Regions from separate parts of the Homo sapiens genome. Here all the other regions are linked to region 3. Evidence: promoter capture Hi-C in 16 types of primary human blood cells and fetal thymus (Javierre and others, 2016). All regions are on one chromosome and are shown on one strand. The core of a region is centred on a gene start or on the middle of the fragment in contact, and the rest is flanking DNA. Distances in the headings are between cores, read along the strand shown.

Region 1 (2,946 bases), core at 323-2,822, 2.9 Mb after region 3:
CTTTGCGAGACCCCGGTAGAAACCCTTCTGTTTCGTTCCCAAAGCAATTTTTAAAAACTTTTCCAAAGTCCAAATAGCAGCAGGTTCTGGCTTGCTGGGCGCAAAGCTTCTACCTCCCAGTGCGCCCCAGCCCGCAATGGATAGCCGGGCCTGTCCGGGGCCCCACAGGAGGCTGGTCCCGGGTGCCCAAGTCCAGCGCACCGCCGCCTGCATGACTCATTCATGGTCGTTTGTGCAGGTTGCGAACTGCCCCAGAGCCCTTTCCCGCTCCAAAGCCGCGGAGGCCAGGGATAACGCGCAGGGTCAGCCTCGCAGGCCTGTCCTGTCCCTTTTTCACCCCGGGCCCGGAGCGGCCCTAGCTTAGTGTGGGCCGGGGCGGGCGGGAGCCACGGCGCCACGCCGTGGAGGAAGCGCGGCGCTGCAGGCGGGTCTTCAGCCGCTCACCTGCCTCGACCGCTGCAGCCGTGCGCCAGCTCTCGCCGGGCCCAGCGCACCGCGGTCAGGGCCCTGAGGCTGCCGGGAGCGGTCTCTCCCTCTGCTCTTCCACTGAAGCGCTGCTTCTCCCCCTCCCTCCAAAACAGCCGGTATCCAGCGGCCGGCCATCTCTCTGACTTAAGTCACCCAGAGCACATTTGGGAAAGTTTCTCGCTCGCGCTGTGCGCTTTTTTCCAATTGGGGATGAAAAGGACATGGAAAGAAATCGCAGCAAGGTTAGCACCCTAGTAGATACCCCACCCCAGCAAAAATGTGCAAAGTCCTATTTCTCAAGAAAGAAAGAAAGAAAAGAAAAGCAAGAAAAGATAGCTGCGTTCTTACCACGTGCGCCAGCCCACTCCGCCTGCGCTCTGGCGGGTCCCGCGGCCCCCGCGCTGACCATGGGCAAGACGACGCCTCGGAAGGGAGTCCGACTCGCATCTCGGGCCCTGAGTCCGAAAGAACGGGGGAAAGCCGAATTATGCAAATGCGGATCCCTGCGATGGGGCTCGGGTTACGGCCCCCGCCGGCCCCTTAGGTGAGGCACCCACCGGCAGCAAGCGCGGGCGAGGCGACTGCTCGCGCTTCGCTCCTCTCTGCGCACGTGGGCGGACCGGCAGGCGGGCGAGTTGCCCGGGCCGCCCCGCGACTGGCGCTGCTGCCAAACCCGCCGGCGGTCGCCGCGCGCCACCCCGAGGGGGAGCTCCTGGACGCCCGAGTGCCCGGCCAGCAGGGCGCGGAGGGCAGGACCGGGGCTGGGGGCGGGGCGGGGTGCCTGAGCGAGGGAAAACCGCGAGGTCTTCGGCTGCCACCTTTCCCGGAGGAGGATGCCAGTAGAAGGCGGGTGGAGGAGGGGGCCCCATCAAGGAGTCTTGAAAGCACATTAGAGTAAATGAGAGTGACTGACCCTCTGAAATTCTTGTGAGCTTTCCAAGGACTCACACCTCCCCCTAAGAGCTACGCTGCATCAGCCTGGGGTGCGCAGGGAATGGAGTGGGGGCGGGGACGGGCGGCAGCTGCGGGGAGGCCAGGGAATGCCTGGGGCCAGTCCTGGGAGGCCTTTATTGAACCTCCGCTGAAACAAGTCAGTAGATAACTCTCGTAACCTTTGTTTTTTTGAGTGTCTCTTGAAGTACCAACCCTTAAATATGGGTAGTGCAGATAATGGAACAGAATCAAGGCGCACCCTTTCAAGCCAGCCACCCTGTGGATAAGCTCAGAAAGCTAAAGTGGCTTGCCTAAAGTCACGTAGCTGGTAAGTGGTCGTGTCCAAACTTGCAGCTGGGTCTTCTGAATCCAAGTACAGCGCACAGTGGTCGCTACATCGTGCCCTCAGGAAAACCCAGGTCTGAAAAGTGAACACTTCTTTGAGGATTGGGAGCCTGACTCAGCCCACTAGGGAAGAATCAGGCCGCCTCCGCCAATTTCATCTCCTTTCTTTGCCATTTCTGAGGAGAGCAAAGCTGAGGTCAGGGCTTTCTACAGGCAAGGAGGAAGGGACTGTCATGGACACGCCCCCTGCCCACTGTAAAGGGAGAATTTGAGTTCTTGGGCTCTCCAGACCTAGACTGTGGATGGAATAGCCAGGCTGGCACAAAGCCAGCATACTAATAGGCGCTGTCATAAGAGAAGCTAGCCCCACAGTATCCTTCCTGGAGACAAGAAGAGGTGAGAAAAGAAAGAAGTGCGGACAAGTAAAAACTCCAAAGGGTTTACTGAGCAAGATACTGTGCTGGAGGTGGAGGGGTGTGGGGATGGAGAATGTGAGAGTTGAATACAAACATGTACCATGGTCCCTACTATTAAGCATTTGAACTTTTTTGTTTTGATTAAAAATCCAACAAAGAAACAACTTTCTTTAAAATAGACCTGTAAAAATGCCCGACTAAATGGGGCACTCCAAGATGTATCAGGGCTATTAAAAGAGTAGCAAACTCATGCCAGATTCCAATTTGCTTTGTCCAGATTCCAGAGCCAGAAAGTAAAATAACAACGATGCAGAGAAACCCTTTAGTAGGCTTGCTCCTGGGGTTGCGGGAGAGTGTTTAGGGTGACAAGCAGGGGTGGCAACCTGAGGGTCCTAGCTGGACCCCAGAGTCTCCTGAGTGATTTTCAGGTTTTTTTTTTTAACCCAGATTTGAAATTCTCATTTACAGTGTGGTGACAGGATCACCATCAGCCAAGAGGGATGTCACAAATAATTTGTTCATATTTGTGTTTTGATTTATTAACATTCTTGCACATCATTATAGGCTCTACCTATTGTAATGTCATTTTTGTTCCCTTCCATACTAATACTGTTACTGGAGTGGAAGACAAAAGAAGGTCAGAATTTGCCTTAACTGTGGACACTCATGAGGGTGGGGACCTCAAACTTGAATGGCATAGAACATGTGCACTTCGGTGAAAATCAGATCAATTGCCAACTCTGCCATCCACCTAAAGTGCCCCTGCATGCTGAAAAAAAGTGAT
Region 2 (2,989 bases), core at 262-2,761, 2.7 Mb after region 3:
CCCATCACCCCCTGCAACATATTCCTCTGTTCACCAAACCTTGGATATCCACAAACAACTGGATGCGATGATCATGAAGCTCCCAGCCTCCCCCACTGTCATGGGCATCTGTGAGTCTAAGTAGGATGGTGGATGATTTCTCACCACCATCTTCCCCTCTCTCTCTCTCTCTCTCTCCATTTCCACCTTTTCCTAGGAGAGAGTCTGATGAAGCCAGTAAAAAGGGTCAAAGGCTCTGGGAGCATAGTGGGACAATGAATGCTGTCTGAGAATGTCAATATGACCAAAGACATTGTTCCACTTGGGTGGACCTGAAAATCATAATGGGGCTCCAAAAAGAGCCCATTGCCTGGGATCCTGAACCGTAAGTTAAAGTTAAAGGTCGGGTCTGGCACGGTGGCTCACGCCTGTAATCCTAGCACTTTGGGAGGCCGAGGCAGGTGGATCTTGAGGTCAGGAGTTTGAGATCAGCCTGGCCAATATGGTGAAACCCCATCTCTACTAAAAAATACAAAAATTAGCTGGGCGTGGTGCAGTGCACCTGTAGTCCCAGCTACTTGGGAGGCTGAGGCAGGAGAATCGTTTGAACCCGGGAGGTGGAGGTTGCAGTGAGAGCCGAGATCAGGCCACTGACTCCAGCCTGGGTGACAGAGCAAGACTCCATTTCAAAAAAAGAAAAAAAAAAAGGTCAAAAAGGCCAAAAGGACCTTGGAAGGAGAGGACAAAAAACCAGAGAGAGAAGACACTTACAGGCAGCTCATTGAAACAAACAAACAAAGACTTCATTCGCACTATCCTCAGGAAAAGTTCCTGTGTATTCAGTACCTTCTAACATAAAGCTTACTTTCTAGTAATAGACCCTACTTAAACCCTTCCAGATGTAAGAGCTGATAGTAAGGGATTGCACATCATTCTCCAATCTGGAGCAGGAAGTTGGAGAAGCTGTCTGCCTTCAGGCTGTGTGCCTGGAAAGTCCCATCCCCATTTTGCACAGTGTGGGTGGAAAGGGAAGCCTTCAGCAGCTCAGAGGACCCTGGCTGGCAGCCACTCACTGACTTGGGACTGGTGATGGAGTGTGGGAGAGGGGAATCTGACAACTTGAAAAAGAGCCTGAAGTCTTCCTAAGCATAGAACTACCACACAGAGCCTCAAGCCTGCCCAATCACAACCTTGCCATCATCTCAGCTAGCATTTTCCTGACAGTTTCTGAAAAAATAATCAAAACTGGACTCACATCTTCTAGCCTCATAGCTAGAAGTGAGTAAGTCAGCTGAGCTTTGCTTAAACTCATGGTTTTCCAAGGTGTGTAACATACACAAAACAATTTGGCAGGGAGACATTAGTAGGTGCTACTCAATACATTTCTGAAGAGTAGCACTTAGGGAAACTCTGGTCTAAACAAAACTAAGCATGTTACTGTAGGGCTTTTCAGAGCCTTGAAAATGCTAATGTGAATTGTGACTCTCCAAGAAAGGAATACAGTCATATTTGTGAATTCTGCCTCTTGGATTCAACTAACCTTGGAAAAGAAAACCTCACAAAGTCACAAAAGCAAAACTTGAATTTGCTGTGAACCAAGTACTGCATAGAATCCTTGCAAATAAATTGGTGTGTAGGCATTGTATTAGGTATTATAAGCAATCTAGAGATGATTTAAAGTATATGAGAGAGGATGTGCATAGATTGAATGCAAATACTATGCCATTTTATATAAGGGACTTGAGCATTCTCAGGTTTTGGTATCTGCAGGGGACAGAGGGGTCCTGGAACCAGTCCTCCGTGGCTACCAAGAGATGACTGCATAGTATTCAGTATTTCCTAAGTTTATTTGAACTCTGAATGCTTTTTTTCACAGGGCAACTTAAAGTACTTCTTTTTCCTGAAACACAATTTGGAAAATACTGTCACAAAGCAAACATTAACCACATTATATAATTTTAGAGATTTATTTTTCATTAAGGTAAGCCAGTATTTCCAAAATACCGCAATGTCTTATCCACCATCTCGAGAGGTAAGACTTCATGTGGATGAACAGTCTGCATCACTGAGGCTTCGAACACCAAAACAATTAAACCATTCAACCTAAAAATCTTTCTAAAGTGTATTATACACATCTCTATTTTAATTGTTAAAAATAAAATTAAATATTTTTGAGTATAAAAGTAAATATATGCTTATTTTTCAAAGCTTAAAAAAATTGCAGAAGACTAAATAAGGCAAAAGCCCATAGTTCTGTTAACATTTATTGTAATTTATCTCATCTTATTTTGCATAAAATATTAATATATAAAATAACTGTCACAATTCACTTAATATTTTCTGTGTCATTAAACAGTCTTTGAAAATGTATCTTTTAATGGCTCTATGATAGTCTATAATGGAAATGCATTACATTTCATTTAATCACTTTTATTATGTTTTTATTATGAATAAGGATTAATATCTATTTATAGAAATCTTTGCCTCTATTTTGATTTTGTTTGAATGGAGGTACCTATAAGCAAAATCATATATATTATAAAATTGCCTTTCAGAGGATTTGTACCATCTATACACCCCCAGCATTCTCTAAGAATAATATTTTACCATCCTTACCAACATTAAATACTGTTATTTTTTAAAAATCTGTGTTAATTTGGTAAGTTAAAACTGCTATCTTATAACTGTTTGCACTTTTCATTACCAGTGAGTTTAAACATTTATAAATACTAATTTGACACTGATATTTTTCCTTCTATAATACATATCATACGACCATTTTCTCTCATGGCCTTAATATTTTACTCATTGACTTGGGTGAACTTTGTTAAGGTTATTGGATATCATGTTTGTGACAAATAATTTTCACAGCTTGCTGTTTACCTTTTAATTGGGTTCATGATTTTTAATATGTAAATCTTAACTTCTATTTATACACAAATATGGCTTTTTTCTTTATTTCTTCTTTTGCTTTTGTGCTTAGAAAATTATTTCCCTTTCAGAAGTCAGA
Region 3 (3,422 bases), core at 767-3,266:
CCAACAACTTCCCTCTCTTCTTAACCCCCACTCAGCAAAGACATCTCTGTCAGCGAAGAAAGCTGCATAGGAGGCTTGGAAGTGGCTGCCTCTGCAAATTCCCCGCCCCCCACCTTCCTACCAAAAGGGCACTTCAAGAACTTTACCATCTCACATGAAAGTTGCTCCAATTCCATTCTCCAAAATTGGATTTGAGCATGAAAAGTTTCTTTTTACAATCAACTGCTATTTAGGCTACTGATCACACTTAACTTGCAACTTGCTTTCTACACAAATTAAGAATGCCATCTAGTTCTCATGTATGAGCCAGCACTGGGGGTGTACACACGCGTGCGCACACATATACACAGCCTCCTCCACCGAAGGCATTTCCTGGCACAAGGGGCATCCTAAACTTGCTCCATTTCCAAGGTGTGACCCTCTATCCCCAAATTCATCCCTTTTTCTTCATTTCAAAGTTCAGCCTAATCCGCTATTTTGCAGCAGCTATGGCCATTTATCCCCCTTGATTTCTTGACATCATCTTCTCTGCTTCTGGCTGGGGAACTTTTGATTTGAATACAGTTGTCTGTGTGGGGATCCTTCATGTTAATGATGTGGTGAGCTGGCAGGGATGATAGGTGAGAGTACACAGTGTACTTTTTCTAGTTACGTTTCGCCTCATCACTGCTATAGGGGCCTTTCTAAACGCCTGCCACACCAGGAGAGAGACCTACAGACCCAAGCTTACCCGTTTCTGGGCAGCCTCCAGGGGACAGGTAGAAACAGAACAGATGGCCTGTTCTCCAGTATCTAGACTCAGAAGCAAGATACTTCTAACCACTCCACGAATGAAGCAAACACACGTACCTCTGGCTCAGCCAGGGAGTCACAGTCACTACCCTTCCCCTGGTTTCGGCCCCAGCCCTGTCCAGGCGTGGATGCTGCACTCTCCTCGCTGTAAACCGTCCACCCTCCCAACCCAAAGCAAAGAGCTTCCAACAGAGGTGGGAGCATTAGCGCCGTACCCGCCCTTCCCTCTCGATCCCGGCCAGAAAACTCCACTTCCCGGATTCCCGGCCACTCTCTCCCGCCCCCTCCCCGGGCGATCCAGCTAGCGCAGTCCAGATGCCAGCTTAGTGCCCAGTCCAGCTGCGAACCCCCACACTCCGAGCCAGGACCCAGTAAGAGATCCCAGCTTCCTCCCTCTTCCAGGACTGGGGTTCCCCAGATTCTGGACGCACCCCTCAAACATGCTAGGGCTGAAAAAAGTCCTACCCCGCCCCCCAGCCACGCCGCCAGCCTCCAGCCCAGCCCCGGAGGGGCCTCCTCTCCAGAGGCTAAAAGGGACCATGAATGGTTGCCACAGTAGCCTTCCCCCGCACCGCGCAAGGGTCCTCAGACCCCCGAGGAGGACAGACCCGCGTGGCCCCGAAGGGATACCTCCCTCTCCTCCCGGAAGCCAGCAGGTCCCCGCAGGGAGTGTGCTCTCAGAGGGTCCCCGGGAATCTGGGGAAGACTTGGGGGGTGGCTGGATTCGGGTGCAGCCCCTCCCGGGGCGGGCGGAGGTCGGCGCTGCGGCGCGTCCCCGGGGGGCACTCACGATGGTCACGCTGGCTTTGCGCAGGTCGCGGTTCTCCTCCTGCAGTGCCTTGCACTTCAGTTTGTAGGTCTCCAGCTCTATCTTCAGCACCTTGTTCTCTTGCTGCAGCGAGGCCAGGCGGTTGGTGAGCTCCTCCAGGCGGAACGGCGAGATGACAATGCCCCCCGACTTCCCACCGCCGCCGCCTCCCCCGCCGCCACCGCCGCCGCCCGAGGTCGACGAGCAGGACGACTGCATGGCGGCCGAGCTGCTGCTGTTGCCCCCCGCCCCGTCCGTGTCGCTCTCGCTGGCGCTGTCCGCCATGGCCGCGGCGGGCTGGGGAAAGGAGGAGGAGCAGCAGGGAGGCGGCGGCGACGAAGGCCGGGCTGCGAATGAGTGGGCGCCGGGCGAGCACAGGGGAGCGCCGAGCTGAGCGCCTGGCACCAGGGCGCAGACTCGGAGCGGCGGCGAGAGAAAGAGAGGGCGCTTCCCGCTGCCAAGGGACCTCCTCTGCCAGAGAACAGAGACCCCGCCCGGGCTTGGGCAGTATTGCACTGGGGCTCGCTCCAGCCGGGCTGGGCGCGCTCCCTAGGCCGCCCAGCAAAGCTGGCTGAAAGCTCCGGGACCCGCCCGCCGCCGTCTGGTGACCACGGGCGGGCTGGGAACGCGCAGGCACTGCGGGTGCGGGAAAGCCAAGGACTGCCCCCGCACCACCAGCTCGCCAGCCACACGTGTTCCAAGGGAGGGCCTCCGAGCCCCCTGATCTAAGCCCACGGCCGCCCAGCCTCTTCCGGGCTCGCGCCCGCCCCGAGAAAAAGGAAACCTGATGCCCCACCAGCCTCGCAGGTGCCGGGGACACGTGGAAAGGTCAGCCGGGCTCCGGCACCCATCCTCTACCGTGTTGTGGCCCCATCTTCCGCCGACTGTGTGTGCGCGTGTCTCCCTCTATCTGTTTCACACATACACGCAGTTTTATATTCTCAAAAGCAAGGTGTTTTTGACTAGGAAGGCTTGGATAAACCTAAGAGAACAAAGTTCCTCTACAAGAGGCCGAGGAGGATGAAACAACAGCAGCCACAGGTTAACCTTGTTAAGTAAGAATTTGCAGGAGAGACACACATCTCCTTTAATAACCTCATAAACCACACTGCGCTCAATTGTTTAAACAAGGTGCAACTGTTTTTTTCTTTTTCTCTTTGCATTTTGCAAACATTTCCAGCACATGTCTCGTAGTAGGATTAAGACAGTAACATTTACCTAATGAAGAAAAAAAAAAAGGAAGGCGAAACACTTTTAGTAGAAGATTGAAACACCTCTTTAAGTGCCAATTTTCCAAAGTAACTGCGGACATAACATTATGCTATACAAATAGTAATGATTGAGTGGGAGTGCAACATCACCCGTCTTTGCTATCCTCTTGCTCACTCCTAGAAAACTTTAGCATGTAAAAATAAAACAGTAATTACTGTAATGCGGTCTAATTCATGGTTCTAGCTTTGCAGTTTAAGAAATTAAAAATCAAAAACTTTTATTCCCCCTTCCTCTTCCCAAAGAAAGGCTTGCAGGAAATTGGCCCAGCAGGTGAGATGATTCTAAACACTTTGCCCTGTTGACACAAAACAGCTTTCACTTATGTATAAAAATTGGAAAGTGAAACTGACCAGACTAGTTTTATTACCCACGCTTAGTTAACATTACAACAAACACATGGTAATAGAAAATAGAAAAAAAAGTGTAATTTTTTTTTCTGTTGGGTTGAACTTTCTGAAAGATTTCTAAAGTGTTAGGAAGAAAGAAGAATGATTCTTATTCCCACTCCCTCATTATCTTTAAACCTAAATTTGATCTCATGATTAAACGG

What was found. Contacts are between HindIII fragments. The CHiCAGO score rates a contact against its expected background, and 5 or more counts as called.
Region 1: a fragment that was not itself captured here is called in contact with the fragment with the promoter of CCDC6 in region 3 in 1 of 17 cell types (non-activated CD4 T cells); the score reaches 5.8 in non-activated CD4 T cells.
Region 2: a contact is called between a fragment that was not itself captured here and the fragment with the promoter of CCDC6 in region 3, in 1 of 17 cell types (non-activated CD4 T cells). The highest score is 11.1, in non-activated CD4 T cells.

Annotation. Positions count from the first base shown.
Region 1 is chr10:62,817,725-62,820,670 of GRCh38, forward strand. It overlaps a transcript of EGR2 not described here. Among named protein-coding and RNA genes, the nearest start is that of EGR2, 2.8 kb to the left of the region's middle. RefSeq lists enhancers at 1-485, 123-292 and silencers at 373-522, 1,023-1,272. The HindIII fragment of the contact is 2,936 bases long and covers 105-2,946 here.
Region 2 is chr10:62,639,618-62,642,606 of GRCh38, forward strand. The region is part of intron 1 of LOC105378327 (a long non-coding RNA gene); the gene reads right to left. Among named protein-coding and RNA genes, the nearest start is that of ADO, 160 kb to the right of the region's middle. RefSeq lists an enhancer at 966-1,035. The HindIII fragment of the contact is 1,348 bases long and covers 838-2,185 here.
Region 3 is chr10:59,904,540-59,907,961 of GRCh38, forward strand. It overlaps CCDC6 (coiled-coil domain containing 6), which reads right to left and starts at 2,017. Exons shown (of 9, transcript NM_005436.5): 1 at 1,583-2,017. The coding sequence starts at 1,885. RefSeq lists an enhancer at 730-959 and silencers at 1,480-1,759, 1,790-2,129, 2,312-2,606. The HindIII fragment of the contact is 3,234 bases long and covers 724-3,422 here.